Regions from separate parts of the Homo sapiens genome. Here region 2 is linked to region 1. The links are contacts of gene promoters, found by promoter capture Hi-C in blood cells and fetal thymus (Javierre and others, 2016). All regions are on one chromosome and are shown on one strand. The core of a region is centred on a gene start or on the middle of the fragment in contact, and the rest is flanking DNA. Distances in the headings are between cores, read along the strand shown. Region 1 holds the start of ZFYVE19 (zinc finger FYVE-type containing 19). Region 2 has its middle 47 kb from the start of CHST14.

What was found. Contacts are between HindIII fragments. The CHiCAGO score rates a contact against its expected background, and 5 or more counts as called.
Region 2: a contact is called between a fragment that was not itself captured here and the fragment with the promoter of ZFYVE19 in region 1, in 2 of 17 cell types (naive B cells and total B cells). The highest score is 6.0, in naive B cells.

The regions. Positions count from the first base shown.
Region 1 is chr15:40,802,255-40,809,798 of GRCh38, forward strand. It overlaps ZFYVE19 (zinc finger FYVE-type containing 19), which reads left to right and starts at 4,835. Exons shown (of 11, transcript NM_001077268.2): 1 at 4,835-5,614; 2 at 6,865-6,986; 3 at 7,154-7,204. The coding sequence starts at 5,336. It overlaps DNAJC17 (DnaJ heat shock protein family (Hsp40) member C17), which reads right to left and starts at 5,219. Exons shown (of 11, transcript NM_018163.3): 1 at 5,115-5,219. The coding sequence starts at 5,192. RefSeq lists enhancers at 4,498-4,587, 5,048-5,097, 5,138-5,187, 5,818-5,867. The HindIII fragment of the contact is 13,093 bases long and covers 1-6,909 here.
Region 2 is chr15:40,514,064-40,521,607 of GRCh38, forward strand. It overlaps a transcript of CCDC32 not described here. Among named protein-coding and RNA genes, the nearest start is that of CHST14, 47 kb to the left of the region's middle. RefSeq lists enhancers at 5,727-6,021, 6,076-6,185. The HindIII fragment of the contact is 582 bases long and covers 3,435-4,016 here.

The sequences.
Region 1 (7,544 bases), core at 3,585-6,084:
CCGCCTCCCAGGTTCAAGCGATTCTCCTGCCTCAGCCTCCCAGTAGCTGGGACTACAGGCACGTGCCACCGCGTCTGGCTAGTTTTTATATTTTTAGTAGAGATAGGATTTCACCCTGTTGGCCAGGCTGTCTAAAACTCCTGACCTCAGGTGATCTGCCTGCCTGGGCCTCTCGAAGTGCTGGGATTACAGACATGAGCCACTGCGCCTGGCCAATTTTTGGATGTAGTAAGATTTAGACCGCTGTGAAACATCCACATGGAGGGATCAAACAGGCAGATAGATACACAGATTTGAGATTCAGAGAAGTAGTCTGAACACAAGTTAAATTTGGTGGTGGTGCTCATCACTACCACTGAACCGCGCTGGACAGGGCCAGGGAGCCTTAGCAGAAGGAGCAGAGGCCTGAGCTGGACATCAGGGCATCAGGGCATCAGGGCATCAGGGTTCTAGTCCCAATTCTGCCACTAACCACCTTCTCCGAGCTGCAGTTTCGCCATCAGTAACACAGGGAGCTTGGCCTCCATTAGGGCTTCTTTGACTTTTGGATTAAAATTCCCTCCTCTGGCCAGGCGTGGTAGCTCATGCCTATAACCCAAACACTTTTCAGAGGCCAAGGCGGGAGGACTGCTTGAACCCAGGAGTTCAAGACCAACCTGGCCAACATGGTGGAACCCGATCTCTACAAAAATACAAAAATTAGCCAGGCATGGCGGTGCACACCTGTGGTCCCAGCTACTTTTGAGGCTGAGGTGGGAGGATTGCTTGAGCCCAGGAGGCAGAGTTTGCAGTGAGCAGTAATCATGCCACTGACTCCAGCGTGGGTAACACAGAGAGACCCTGGGTCAAAAAAAAAAAAAAGAAAAAAAAAGTCCTCCTCTCCTCCAGAATAAATACAAAAAAAAAAAAAATCACGCATGATTTTCAGAGGTTCCTTCACCCAGTTCCTGGAGCCTTTCTGTAGAGGGCAAATTGAGAACTCCTAGGCTATTTGGACAACCAGTTTAGGAGTTCTTCCTTGTATACACTTTAAATATTTGTTTGTCCTCTAGGTTGCCCTATGGCAGCAACCTAGGTTGTCTATGACAGGTATTAAACCATGGTGCGGGGACACCAGGGCCTAGGTTTTTCTTGCTTTCTACCAAAAAGTGTGTTGCCATGAAGCTAGCCAGTGTATCCAAAGTGTAAATGGGAGTAAGTGCTAGAAAGGAGAATGGCTGCTATGAAAAGAAAAATAGGTAAGGCCTCTTTGAGGGTGCCACCTACTTATGCTCCAAAATAGACTGTATGTATTAATATATACATTTGCTTTCTTGGAATGCCCTGCCTCCATCTCCACATGTCCAAACTCTGCCCATTCTTCAAGGCCCCAAATACCTTCTCTCCTGCCTTTATTCCTTCTCTCAAACTAATAGCAATCTCAGCCTACACTGAACATCCACAGCACTTTGTACCCCTCTTAAGGAACTCACCATGTCTCCCTTGTATGCGTGAATCTTGCCCCCCCATTAAAGGCAGGAGCAGCACCTGTTACCCTTTATAGAGTGGCTTCACACCTATCCCTTATCTCATCTGAGTTAGAACTGGATCCCAGCCACCACTGCCCAGCTCAGACCTTGGTCTCTTGCCTAGACACCAGCCCCATCTGACCCCCTAGTGGCAGCTCTTCCATTCCTCCCACCCCCACCCATTTTCATTATGCACACTAGTGTTGAATTTTCTTTTCTTTTTTAAGAGTGGCAGGGTCTCACCCTGTCATCCAGGCTGGAATACAGTGGCAAAATCATAGCTCACTGAAACTTCCCAGGCTCAAGTGATCCTCCCACCTCAGCCTCCCATGTAGCGGGGACTACAGGTGCGTAACACCCTGCCCAGCTTTTTTTTTTATATATAGAGAGAGAGACAGGCTCTCACTACGTTTCCCAGGCTGGTCTCAAACTCCTGGCCTCAAGCGTTCCTTCCACCTTGGCCTCCCAAAGTGCTGGGATTGCAGGTGTGAGCCATCACACTCAGTCAAATACTTTCTTTAAAATCCAATTATGGGCAGGGCACAGTGGCTCATGCCTGCAATCCCAGCACTCTGGGAGACCAGGCAGGAGGATAGCTTGAACCCAGGAGTTCGACACCAGCCTGGGCAATATAGCTGGACCCCGTCTCTGGAAAAAAAAAAAAAGCAAAAACAAACACAAAACAAATTAGCCAGGCATGATGATGCACACCTGCAGTCCCAACTACATGAGAGGCTGAGGTGGGATCACTTGAGCCCAGGAAGTCGAGGCTGCAGTGAGCTGTGATTGTGCCACTGCATTCCAGCCTGAATGACAGTGAGATCTTTTCTCAAAAAATAGACATAAAAATAAAAAAAAAATAAAATCTGATTATGTAACTTCTCTAATTAATAGAGAATGACTTCCAACTGACTTCCTCAGGAGTTCTCAACTTCAGGGTTAGAAACTCTAGATTTCAGCCGGGCGCGGTGGCTCACGCCTGTAATCCCAGCACTTTGGGAGGCCAAGGCCGGCAGATCACTTGAGGTCAGGAGTTCAAGACCAGCCTGACCAACATGGTGAAACCCTGTCTCTGATAAAAACACAAAAATTAGCTGGGTGTGGTGGCACATGCCTGTAATCCCAGCTGCTCAGGAGGCTGAGGCAGGAGAATTCCCTGAACCTGGGGGGCAGAGGTTGCAGTGAGCCAAGGTTGCACCACTGCACTCCAGCCTAGGCAAGAGAGTGAGACTCCGTCTCAAAAAAAAACCCTCCAGATTTCCCACTTGGATCTTTTGTGAAATGTCTCAAATAGTTTCTCACTATTAATAAAGTACTAATTAAATAATTTGCAGGCAGGGCATAGTGGCTCACACCTGTAATCCCAGCACTTTGGGAGGCCGAGGTGGGAAGATCACGAGGTCAGGAATCCAAGACTGGCCTGGCCAACACGGTGAGACCCCGTCTCTACTAAAAATACAAAAATTAGCTGGGCGTGGTGGCGGGTGCCTGTAATCCCAGCTACTTGGGAGGCTGAGGCAGGAGAATCACTTGAAACAGGAAGGCGGAGGTTGCAGTGAGCCGAGATCATGCCACTGCACTCCAGCCTGGGCCAAAGAGTGATACTCTGTCTCAAAAAAAAAAAAAAAAAAAAAATTAGCCGGGCGTGGTGGTACATGCCTGTAGTCCCAGCTACTCCGGAGGCTGAGGCAGGAGAATCGCTTGAACCTGGGAGGCAGAAGTTGCAGTAAGCTGAGATTGCGCCACTGCACTCCAGCCTGGGCGACAGAGCGAGACTCCGTCTCAAAAAATAATAATAGGCCGGGCACGGTGGCTCACGCTTGTAATCCCAGCACTTTGGGAGGCTGAGGTGGGCAGATCACGAGGTCAGGAGATCGAGACCACGGTGAAACCCCGTCTCTACTAAAAATAAAAATTATTAGCCGGGCATGGTGGCAGGCGCCTGTAGTCCCAGCTACTTGGAGAGGCTCAGGCAGGAGAATGGCGTGAACCCGAGAGGCGGAGGTTGCAGTAAGCCGAGATCGCGCCACTGCACTCCAGCCTGGGCCACAGAGCGAGACTCCGTCTCAAAAACAATAATAAAAAATAATAATAATAAAGAATTTAAAAAATAATAATTTGTAAACATAGAGCACTTAGAATACTATCCAGAAAAAAAAAATACTGTCTAGGACATAGTAAGCATTATACAGATGTTAGGAATTATTAATCCTAAAATATTGAAACACGAGAGAGGTGGAGCAGATGCTTTTGATGCTTCATAGACATCCCATGGCCATTTCTGATTTCAGCTGCGGCTGCAGGGGACAGATTTGTGCAGGTTGACAGCATTTCTCAAGGGCCCTCTGGGTCTCTCTGATTTTCTGCCCCAGAGCTTCCTCTTCTCAAAAGCTCACTCACCCCATGAGCAGGGCAGCCCAGAAGTACTGGGACATTAGTGGGCACTATTTTTTTTTCCTTTTTTTTTTTTTTTTTTGAGACAGTCTCGCTCTGTCGCCCAGACTGGAGTGCAGTGGTGCAATCTCAGCTCACTGCAACCTCCGCCTCCCGGGTTCCAGTGATTCTCCTGCCTCAGCCTCCCAAGTAGCTGGGACTACAGGTGTGTGCCACCACGCCCGGCTAATTTTTGTATTTTTAGTAGAGAAGGGGTTTCAGCATATTGGTCAGGCTGGTCTCGAACTTCTGACCACATGATCCGCCCGCCTCGGCCTCCCAAAGTGCTGAGATTACAGGCGTGAGCCACCGCGCCCGGCCTAGTAGACACTAATTTTCTTTCTTTCTTTCTTTTTTTGAGAAAGAGTCTTGCTCTGTCGCCCAGGATGGAGTGCAGTGGCGCGATCTCGGCTCAGTTGGGCACTAATTTTCATTTGATGAACGCCTCTCCTTCGTATATTGTTAAAACTACCACCATGATCCAGGGGGAGATAAAAGAAATCCTAAATCCAGCTTGATCAGTGTTTCACTCCCTGGCATCTTTATCACCACCTAAGGTAGCATGGACCTCTATACCATCTGCCTTAACCTTCTGATCCTCCTGCTTTTAGCCCACTAACTAGCACATGCTGAGAAGGGCATCAGCTACTTGAAAAGAGTCAATGGGCTTGAGTGGAAAAGAAAATAGAGACAGCAGGGTCATCGGTCACATTGGCAAGGGGGCATGAAAAGGGAGTGGAGAGGCTTTGAGATCTTACTTTTCTTTCGTTCTAGGCTCTTAGTGGAAGAATTAAATCAGCCTGCAGAAGAGACTGAAATGAGGCACCTCTTGTCACAGTCAAGGCAGAAGCGGAAACGGAGGCCGAGACTGCGCAGGCGCAGAGGAGGCTAGCGTTCCTTGCTGCCTCGCCCCGCGGCCTCTAGGAGACAGGGGCCACGGGGAGAGCACAGCCACCCGGCGCGAAGAGCCCTCTGTACCCCGCTTCCTCTTGAGGCCCTCGGACCGTCCAGGAAATGTCTGGGAGCCCGCCTGCGGAGGGCATAGCGCCGACCCTCGCTCCCCGCCCAGGACCCGAATGAACCTGGAGAGCGGATGCCAGCAGTGGCCGAGGCGCTAGGACAGGAAGGACCGCCAGACCTCTCAAGATCAGCCTTCCTCGCCACCGTTCTCACCTCTTTGTCCGCTGCCTTCTCCTCAATGCCTAGCAGCGCGTACAGGTCCATCTGTAAGAGCTCCTTGGTCACTGCCATGGTTCCGGCCTGACGGATTCGTACTACAACTCCCAAGAGTCTAAGCGCGCGTGAGGACTGCAGGCTCCGAGCGGCGCCTAGCCCTCTGGGAATTGTGTTCTGGGTCAGGCTTGACTGACTCTGAGGGAGGCCGGCAGTCGTGAATGAACTACGACTCCCAGCAGCCCCCGTTGCCGCCGCTGCCGTACGCTGGCTGCAGGAGAGCGTCCGGATTCCCTGCTCTAGGTCGCGGCGGGACAGTGCCAGTGGGCGTGTGGGGCGGGGCAGGGCAGGGAAGGGAAGGGCGGAGCTGGGGTGAGGGTCCAAGGGGCCCAGGACTTGGCCGGCGTGATCTCAGCTCTGCAGACCCTGCGGTGCTGGGAGCCACCATGGAGAGTAGGTGCTACGGCTGCGCTGTCAAGTTCACCCTCTTCAAGAAGGAGGCGAGTCTTCCCTCCCCGAGGGCTGCAGGGCCAGGGAGGAGAGGAGGGAAAAGCGCGGGACTTAACGTCCAAAGACTTGGTCTTACGGCTCCTTTCCAGCTGTGTGGTTTTGATGAAGTCATTGATCCTCAGTTTCCATTTCTGTAAAATGGGGCTAACATTCTCTCGCTTTCAGGGTTTATGTGAGGGTCCACTGAAGTGCTTTAGGTGAGAGTTCCCTATAAACTGTAAAGCGCGCTGCCGTCGTTTTTGCAAAGCTACTCTTTTCTGTCGGCCCAGTGTAGCATCTGGCGGTTTTCTTCTCTCCACCCTGCTCCTCCGAAGCGCGGTGTCCATCACACCAAGCCCGTTACTCCCTCTGCTCTGAAATCTTCCCCATCCCGCAGCCTGCCCTTCTCCAGGTCGCTGGAGTTAGATTACCACACTTCCTCCTGCTTCCGGGGCACCATGGTGAAGGCTGACTGTCCTGTCCCTATCACAGACCTGCCAGATTCCTCTGGTAAACTGCAGGTTCCCTCTGCCTCAGTTGTGGCCAGGGATTCTGACCAGGAGATGATGGGAACTAGATGGAGTAAATTAGTGTCACGCAGGAAGGCAGGACCGTGCAGCATTCACCAACCTGGATTTTGGAGTCAGCGTTCAAATCTGAGCTCTGCTGTCTTATTGAGGCGGTGACCTTGGTTTGGATAAGTTATGTAACCTCTCTGGCCCTCTCAAAATAAGGATAATCACGGTTGGCATCAAGATTAAGTAAAATAATGTGTGTAAATTGTAAGGAATAAATCACATGATGAATGTTAAGTACTGGGTTTAGTGCCTGGCACATAGTAAGTGCTTAATAAATGGAGGCTATTGTTAGCCCATCCTGAGCCAAGCCTCCCTCCATCTCTGCAAGAGCAGAGGAGGCATCGGCTCTGCCCTGTCTCTCTGATTCTCCTTTGTGGAAGAGTCAGTGGCCTGAAATACTGGGCTTTATCTATCTGTCTTCTACATCCCTGGGTCAGGGAATTGAAGACAGGGTAGAAAGCATGGGAATTTTGTATAAACCTTCATTTGGCTTGAATAAGGTACTGGAAACCGAGGAATTGCTTTACTCACCATCCCTAGGCCTTAGGGGCCCCACTCCTCTTCTTCCTCCCAGCAGCTGGTCATAACTTCAGTGACTTCTCTCTGTGTGTGCTTGGAGAGTCCCTGGGAGCAGCCTGCAGGGGCGGGTGAGAGGGGGATCTCCCGCTTCATGTTTCTTGTAGTACGGCTGTAAGAATTGTGGCAGGGCCTTCTGTTCAGGCTGCCTAAGCTTCAGTGCAGCAGTGCCTCGGACTGGGAACACCCAACAGAAAGTCTGCAAGCAATGCCATGAGGTCCTGACCAGGTAAGAGGCAGGCATGGGTGAAAGTTCAGCCAAGTATGGCAGTGGGCATCTGGCCAGCCCTCACAGCTTTGTACTCTGTCGCGAGAGTCAGCCGAGGAAGTGTTTGGAGTGGGGGGCACTGCCTGGTGGGATGGCAGGATTTATAACACTAGATTTCTTCTCTGTAGAGGGTCTTCTGCCAATGCCTCCAAGTGGTCACCACCTCAGAACTATAAGAAGTAAGTGCTGAAGAGAAAAAGACAAAGAGCATTGGGGAAAGGATAAGGGAGCCATAGGGAAAGACCCTGCCCCCATCTTCTAGATAAAATGAGCACAGAATCAGGAGAATTCTCTCCTCTCTGGCTCCTGACTGCCCTCTTGGGCTGGTAAAGCAGCTCTTCAGCCCTCTCTCCAGGACAGGCACTTGGTAGAGCTTGTCCTTTCAGCTGGACCGTCTGGCTGGTCAGCCAGGTTGGGCTGCAGGGTGACATGAGTGAGGGGCACAGCAGATTGCCCATTGGAGGCCTCCCTAAGTGCCCAGAAATGATTTGATTTGAATGGGAAACAGTGAGTGGGTGC
Region 2 (7,544 bases), core at 2,476-4,975, 290 kb before region 1:
CTTGCACCATGAAAGACTTCGTGGGGAGGGGCCAACAGGGGATGGCTAACTTTTTACTTTGCCAAGCAAGTTCATTCAAAATAATTACTATTGGCTGGGTGCAGTGGCTCATGCCTATAATCCCAGCACTTTGGGAGGCCAAGGTGGGCGGATCACTTGAGGTCAGGAATTTGAGACCAGCCTGGGCAACATGGTGAAACCCCGTCTCTACGAAAAATACAAAAATTAGGTGGGTGTGGAGGCGTGTGCCTGAAATCCCAGCTACTTGGGAGGCTGAGGCACCAAGAATCGTTTGAACTGGGGAGGCGGAGGTTGCAGTGAGCTGAGATCCTGCCACTGCACTCTAGCCTGGGCAACAGAGCGAGACTCCATCTCAAAAAAAAAAACAAAAAACCCAACAAAACAAAAAACCACCATCTACTATCCCATCAGTTCATAAATAAAGACTTTCTAATTCCCAAAATATGGAAATGACATCATTTTAGATGAATATCCATTTGTTTAACTTTTTGTTTTAGAATAATTTCACACATAAAATTTGCTACAATAGTACGATGAACTCCTATATACTCTTCACCCAGATTCACCAGTTGCTAATGTTTTGCTATATTAGGTTTATGAGTTTCTTTTTTAAAAAAAAAATTTTTAAGACAGAGTCTCACTCTGTCACCCAGGCTGGAGTGCAGTGGCTCAATCTCGGCTCACTGCAACCTCTCTCTCCTGAGTTCAAGCAATTCTCCTGCTTCAGCCTCCCAAGTAGCTGAGATTACAGGTGTATGCCACCATACCCAGTTAATTTTTGTATTTTGAGTAGAAACATGGTTTCACCATGTTGGCCAAGCTGTTCTGGAACTCCTGACCTCAAATGATCCACCACCTCGGCCTCCAAAAGTGCAGGGATTACAGGCATGAGCTACTGTGCACAGCCTTGGTTTATGATTCTGTCTCTCTACATTCATACACACAGAGAAAGAGAACACGTGCACAAGACAGAATACTCCCTGTTTATATAAATTTCTTTACTGAATTATTTGAGAGTAAATTATAGACATTGCACCTCTTTACCCTGAAATACTTATGTACTATCACCAAAACCAGGAAACTTAACATCATTGATATAATATTATAATCTACATAATTGATTAAAATTTTGCCAATTATCCTAATAATGTCCCCTCTCCCTCCCCCTGCTGCTACTTCTCTCTCTTCTCCCCTTCTCCTCCTCCCCACCCTCCTTTTCTTCCTCCTTCTCTACACCCTCTTCCTCCTCTTTTTCTTTTCTTTTTCCTCTTCTAGGCATTGCTTTCTCTGGCCCAGGATCCATTCTAGGATCACACGTTGCTTTTGGTTGTCATGTCTCTTCAGTTTCCTTCAATCTGTTGACAGTTTCCTCAGGCTTTCTTTTGTCTTTCATGACATTGACATTTGTGTGTATGAAAAGTACAGGCCTGTTATTGAGTAGAAGGTCCCTCAGTTGGAGTTTGTCTGATGTTTGCTCATGGTTACACTCAAGTAATGCATTTTTGCCAAAATACCACAGAAATGATACGTCCTTTCTCATTGCATGACATCAGAAGGCATATGACATTGGTTTGTCCTATTTAAGAGATGTTAACTTTGCTCTCTTAGTTAAAAGGGTGGCCACCAGATTTCTCCACTGTCAAATTACCATTTTCCCCTTTGTAATTAGTAAATAATTTGTTAAGTGGATTAATAAGTCTTTTAAAGGAAATAAAATCTTCATTTTACGTCTTCCTAAATGAGTCTTTTTTTTTTTTTTTTTTTTTTGAGTTGGAGTCTCGCACTGTTGCCCGGGCTAGAGTGCGATGGCGTAATCTTGGCTCATTGCAACCTCTGCTTCCTGGGTTCATGCGATTCTCCTGCCTCAGCCTCCCAAGTAGCTGGGATTACAGGTGCACCCCACCACACCTGACTAATTTTTTGTACTTTTAGTAGTGATGGGGTTTCACTGTGTTGGCGAAACTGGTCTCGAACTCCTGACCTTGTGATCTGCCTGCCTCAGCCTCCCAAAGTGTTAGGATTACAGGCGTGAGCCACCCCACCCGGCCAATAAGTCTTTTAAAGGAAAAAAGGCTTTTTGAAAAATTCATAACATAATCCTTATTTTGGACTGACTCTTAAAAACCCTGGCACAAGAATGCAAGCAAATTACTCATTTATCTATCAAATCCTTGAGTACTGCATGTGCCAGGTACTGCTCCAGACCCTGCCTTCTCCATCTAACTCCCTCTTTAGTCATCCTGGACAGACTGGCCCCAGGCTTGGGTCCCCAAAGTCATTTCTTGAGCCGCTTGAAGGCAGGAGCTGATACAGAGACACAGTAGGTAGTGGTTCTGGAATCTAGTGTACCCACAGTGTAACAAGGAGACCTGCTCTCAACTCTATGGATACAGCAAGGCTCTTCTGTGATGAAAGAAATAATATTGCTGACATATGTGTTTATATTTTAATTAGCTTTCTCTGAGTTACACTGTAGTAACAAATAACCCAAAACTCTTAGTGGCTTACAGTAAGAAGGGTTTATTTCTTATGCACATTTTATGTCGGCTGTGGTCATTGGTGGTTCTGCTCTGTGTTGTCCTCTCCATTCTGGGATCTGGGCAGAAGATGTAGCCTCTATTTGAAATATGTAATCCTCATGGCAGAGGGAAAAGGAAAGTGATAGAAGTCTGCCATAGTTCTTAAACCTTCTGCAGGGAAAAGCATAGTCATTTCCACTTACATTTATTGGCCACCTCAAGTCGTGTGACCATGCCCGCCATTAATGGGACAGTGAAGTGTATTCCTCCTAAAAAGGAGTGCCGCAAGTCACATAGCAAAAGGAGAGGACGTATAATCACCTCACAGGAAAGGATAGAATAAATCAGAACCAATAATGCAACCAACTATGGTAGAATTCTTTTTTTTTTTTAATTGAAACAGAGTTTCACTCTTGTTGTCCAGGCTGGAGTGCAGTGGTGCGATCTCGGCTCACTGCAACCTCCGCCTCCCAGGTTCAAGCAATTCCCCTGCCCCTTCTGAGTAGCTAGGATTACAGGCGCCTGCCACCACGCCTGGCTAATTTTTTGTATTTTTAGTAGAGACGGGGTTTCACCATGTTGGCCACACTGGTCTGGAACTCCTGACCCCAGGTGATCCACCCGCCTCGGCATCCCAAAGTGCTGGGATAACAGGTGTGAGCCACCGCACCCAGCCGGTAGAATTATTTTATACAGGTTCTCTGCACCAACCTTCCAATTTACAGAAAACAGAGAGGGCCAGAGGAACAAGTTAAACAACACCATGAAGAAACACTCACTCAATCCAAAATGTGGAACATTCTGTAAGAAAGCTGGCCTGGAGTCTTCAAAAAGACAATGTTATAGAAAAAGAAAGAAGCGACTCTTCCAGCTTAAAGGATACAACAATTCATAAGCTTGGATTGAATCTGATTTTTAAAAATCTATAATTAGGGACAATTGGGTAAAATGTTATATAAACTAAATATTAGATGATATTAGAGAATTATTGTTAACTTTTTAGGCATGATAATGATTTTGTAGTTATGTAGGGGAATGTCCCTCTTTTAGGAGATACATGCAAATATATTCAGAGGTGAAGTGACATAACATTTGCAATTTACTTTCAAAAGGTTAAGCAAAAAAGTATTCATGGCTGGGCATGGTGGCTCATGCCTATAATCCCAGCACTTTGAGAGGCCGAGGTGGGCAGATCACCTGAGGTCGGGAGTTCAAGACCAGTCTGACCAACATGGAGAAACCCTGTCTCCACTAAAAATACAAAATCAGCTGGGCGTGGTGGCGCATGCCTGAAATCCCAGCTCCTCGGGAGGCTGAGGCAGGAGAATCATTTGAACCCAGGAGGCGGATGTTGTGGTGAGCCGAGATTGCGCCATTGCACTCCAGCCTGGGCAACAAGAGAGAAACTCCATCTCAAAATATATATATATATTTATAAAGAGAGAGAGCAAAGTTGTATAATGCCTAAAATGTTGAAGCTTGGTGGAGAGTGGAGGGGTGTTAATACTATTCCTTCAAATTTGCTGTTTTTAAAATTCGTAAAAATAAAAAAATAGGAGAAGTATATAGGTGTAGTTGTGATTAATAAAAATAAAGCGGCAGAGTGCAGTGGCCTCACACCTGTAATCCCAGCAGTTTGGGAGTCTGAGGCGGGGTGGATCACGAGGTCAGGAGTTTAATACCAGCCTGACCAACATGGTAAAACCCCGTCTCTATTAAAATCAGAAAAATTAGCCAGTCATGGTGGTGGGCGCCATTAATCCCACTACTCAGGAGGCTGAGGCAGGAGAATCCCTTGAACCCAGGAGGCGGAGGTTGCAGTGAGCCGAGACTGCACCATTGCACTCCAGCCTGGGCAACAGAGCGAGACTTGGTCTCAAAAAATAAATAAATAAATAAATAAAGCTCACTTTAAAATGTTTCTGAATTTATCTTAAACAAAGTAACATGAGGAGAAAAAGAAAAATTATTTTGAAAAAGAATAAAATGTTTCTGAACTTATAGTATTTTTTAAATCGTTATAATTTTCTCTATTGGTTTAATCTCCACTAACATATGAGGAGAAAGCCCTTAATTTTTATTTTATTTTATCTTAATTTTTTTAGAGACAGCGTCTCAGTCTGTCAACCAGGCTGGAGTGCAGTGCCACGATCATAGCTCACTGTAGCCTCAAACTCCCAGCACTGTGGGAGGCTGAGGCAGGAGGATCACTTGAGCCCACGAATTTGAAGCTGTAGTGAGCTATGATCACGCTACTGCACAAAGTGAGACCCCGTCTCAAAAAAATTAAAAATAAATAAATAAGGTAGAAAGCCTCCTAATTAAGCCTTTCTGGAAAGTCTTAACTAATATACTGTATTATATGAAACACCTTACAAACTTCATATCCACTTTGTCTTGGGAATTTAACTAAGAAAAGAACCGTGGATTTCTGTAAAGATTCAGCAACAAGGAAGTTCATCCCAGCATTATTTACTTCAGTGAAAAAAAAATGGGTATAATTTAAGTGTTCCAACAATAGTTGGTTAAATAAACTATGGCCCAGTCACCCAAAGAAAGGAATACAATACAGCCATCAAAAATTATGTTGTGGGCCGGGTGTGGTGGCTCATTCCTGTAATCCCAGCATTTTGGGAGGCTGAGGTGGGTGGATCATTTGAGGCCAGGAGTTTGAGACCAGCCTGAGCAACATGCGAAACCCCGTCTCTACAAAAAATACAAAAATTAACCAGGTGTGGTGGTACATGTCTGTAATCCCAGCTAACTCAGGAGGCTGAGGTGGGACGATTGCTTGAGCCCAGAAGGCTAAGGCTGCAGTGACCAGAGACTGCACCACTGCACTCCAGCCTAGGTAATAAAGCAAGACCATGTCTCCAAATAATAAAATAAAATAAAAGGTATTGCAGAACAACAAGTGAAAGATACTCATACAATGTATTTAACAAGTGGAAAGATACTCGTACAATATATTTAGTTTATGAAACAACAGTATGTACTGTATAATCCTGTTTTTGTTAAAAAAAGAAAAAAAACAGAAAAAAGACTGGAAGAATATACACTCAAGTGCCTAATATCTTGGTTATCTCTGGAGGTTGGATTTACAGATAATTTTTATTATTTTATTTTTCCTTATATCTACTTTAAAAATGTTATAAAGTGAATGTGAATTACTTTTAAATTAAGAAAAAAACATAAAAATGATATTTGAAGGAAGGCTACTGAATTGCCAAATATTTTCTTCTGAAGAACATGAAGGAGCCCCCTTGTGGGTCCCTGGACCCTTAATCAGAGCTGAGACCAACCCAAGCCGCAAGGTGGCAGTGCTGTTCGCTGAGGCTGCCCTTGGGCTGAGCACTCTTGGGCCACACCCGTGAGAGTGCCCCCTCCCCCAGTTTCCCTTTTACCCCAACACACATGGGCACCCCCTGAAAGAAGAGACAACTTGGTGTGCACAGCTGCTCTGCCCATCTTTGCACCTAAGTCCAGGGTGACAGGGGAGTGGAGACGACAAATCAAGAATGTCCTTTCCTTGGAGGAAACTGGGAGGCTTCCCCCAACAACCATTGTCTCTGAATGTGGCTCCAGCTGCCAGATTGTGTGTGCGTGTGTGTGTGTGTGTGTGTGTGTGTGTGTGTGTGTGTGTGTGTGTATTCTGCATGTTTTGCTTATTGTATCGTTTTTCTTGGATGTTGTGTATTTGTTTTAATGTTTAGAACTTGTTCTTTTATTTCAGAACAATATGAACAGAACACAATGTTGAAGAAAATACATTTACTTTGTACCCAATTCTATGCATATTTTCTTCTGCTTTCCAGTCCACACGTTGTTCATCATATTGGAAATCCTCTCTACACCTGCTTTGAAGCAGGATCAATGCACTATACTGATATAATTTCAGCAAATAACTACTGACATGAATTCATAAATGGCATCATTTTGCATTCTGCTCTGTAGGCTTATAATAAAAGTACTTCGTCTACAAAGCAATAATGCAACTTTATTTATAAAATCATTTTCCAATTAAGAAAATTTTCAATGGTTTATAAAAGTGGACATTTGCACAATCTTTTTCATAATTCATGAAATTGTTTAAAGTGTAAAATTCAGTATTTTTTAGTATATTCACAGAATTCTGCAACATCACCAGAATAAATTTTAGAATATAATTGAATCTTGAACAACGTGGAGGTTAGGGGTGCCAGCCTCCCTGCAGCTAAAAATCCATGTATAACTTTTGACTCCCCCAGAGCTTAACTACTAATAGCCTTCTGTTTACCTGAAGCCTTAGTGATAACATAAACAGTTGATTAACGCATATTTTGTCTGCTATATGTATTATACTCTTACAATAAAGTAAGCTAGAGAAAAGGAATGCTATCAGGAAACTCATAAGAAAGAAAAAACTATGTTTACTATTCATTAAGTGGAAGTGGATCATCATAAAGATCTTCATCCTTGTCATCTTCGCGTCGAGTAGGCTGAGGAGGAGGAGGAAAACGGGTTGGTCTTGCTGTCTTGGGGTGGCACAGTCAGAAGAAACTTTGTCTATCAGTGGACCAGTGCAGTTCAAACCTGTGTTGTTCAAGAGTCAACTGTATTTTCATCACCCCCGAAAAAGAAACCCTATATCCATTAGCAGTCACTCCTCATTTCCCCTATATATTTGCATATTCTAGACATTGCATATAGATGGGATTATACAACGCGTGTCTTTTGTGACACTTTTCTCACTTGGCATAACGTTTTCAAGGTTCATCCACGTTGTAGCATGTATCAGTACTTCATTCCTTTGTAGTGCCAAATAATATTCCATTGTATGGAATTTTATTTATCCATCCATCAATGGATGGATATTTGGGTTATTTCCACTTTGGGCTACTATGAATAATGCTGCTATGAATATTCATATACACGTTTTTGTGTGGGATATACCTAGGAGTGAAATTGCTGCATCATATGACTGTTTTCCAAAGTGGATGCACCACTGTACGTTCCCACTAACAA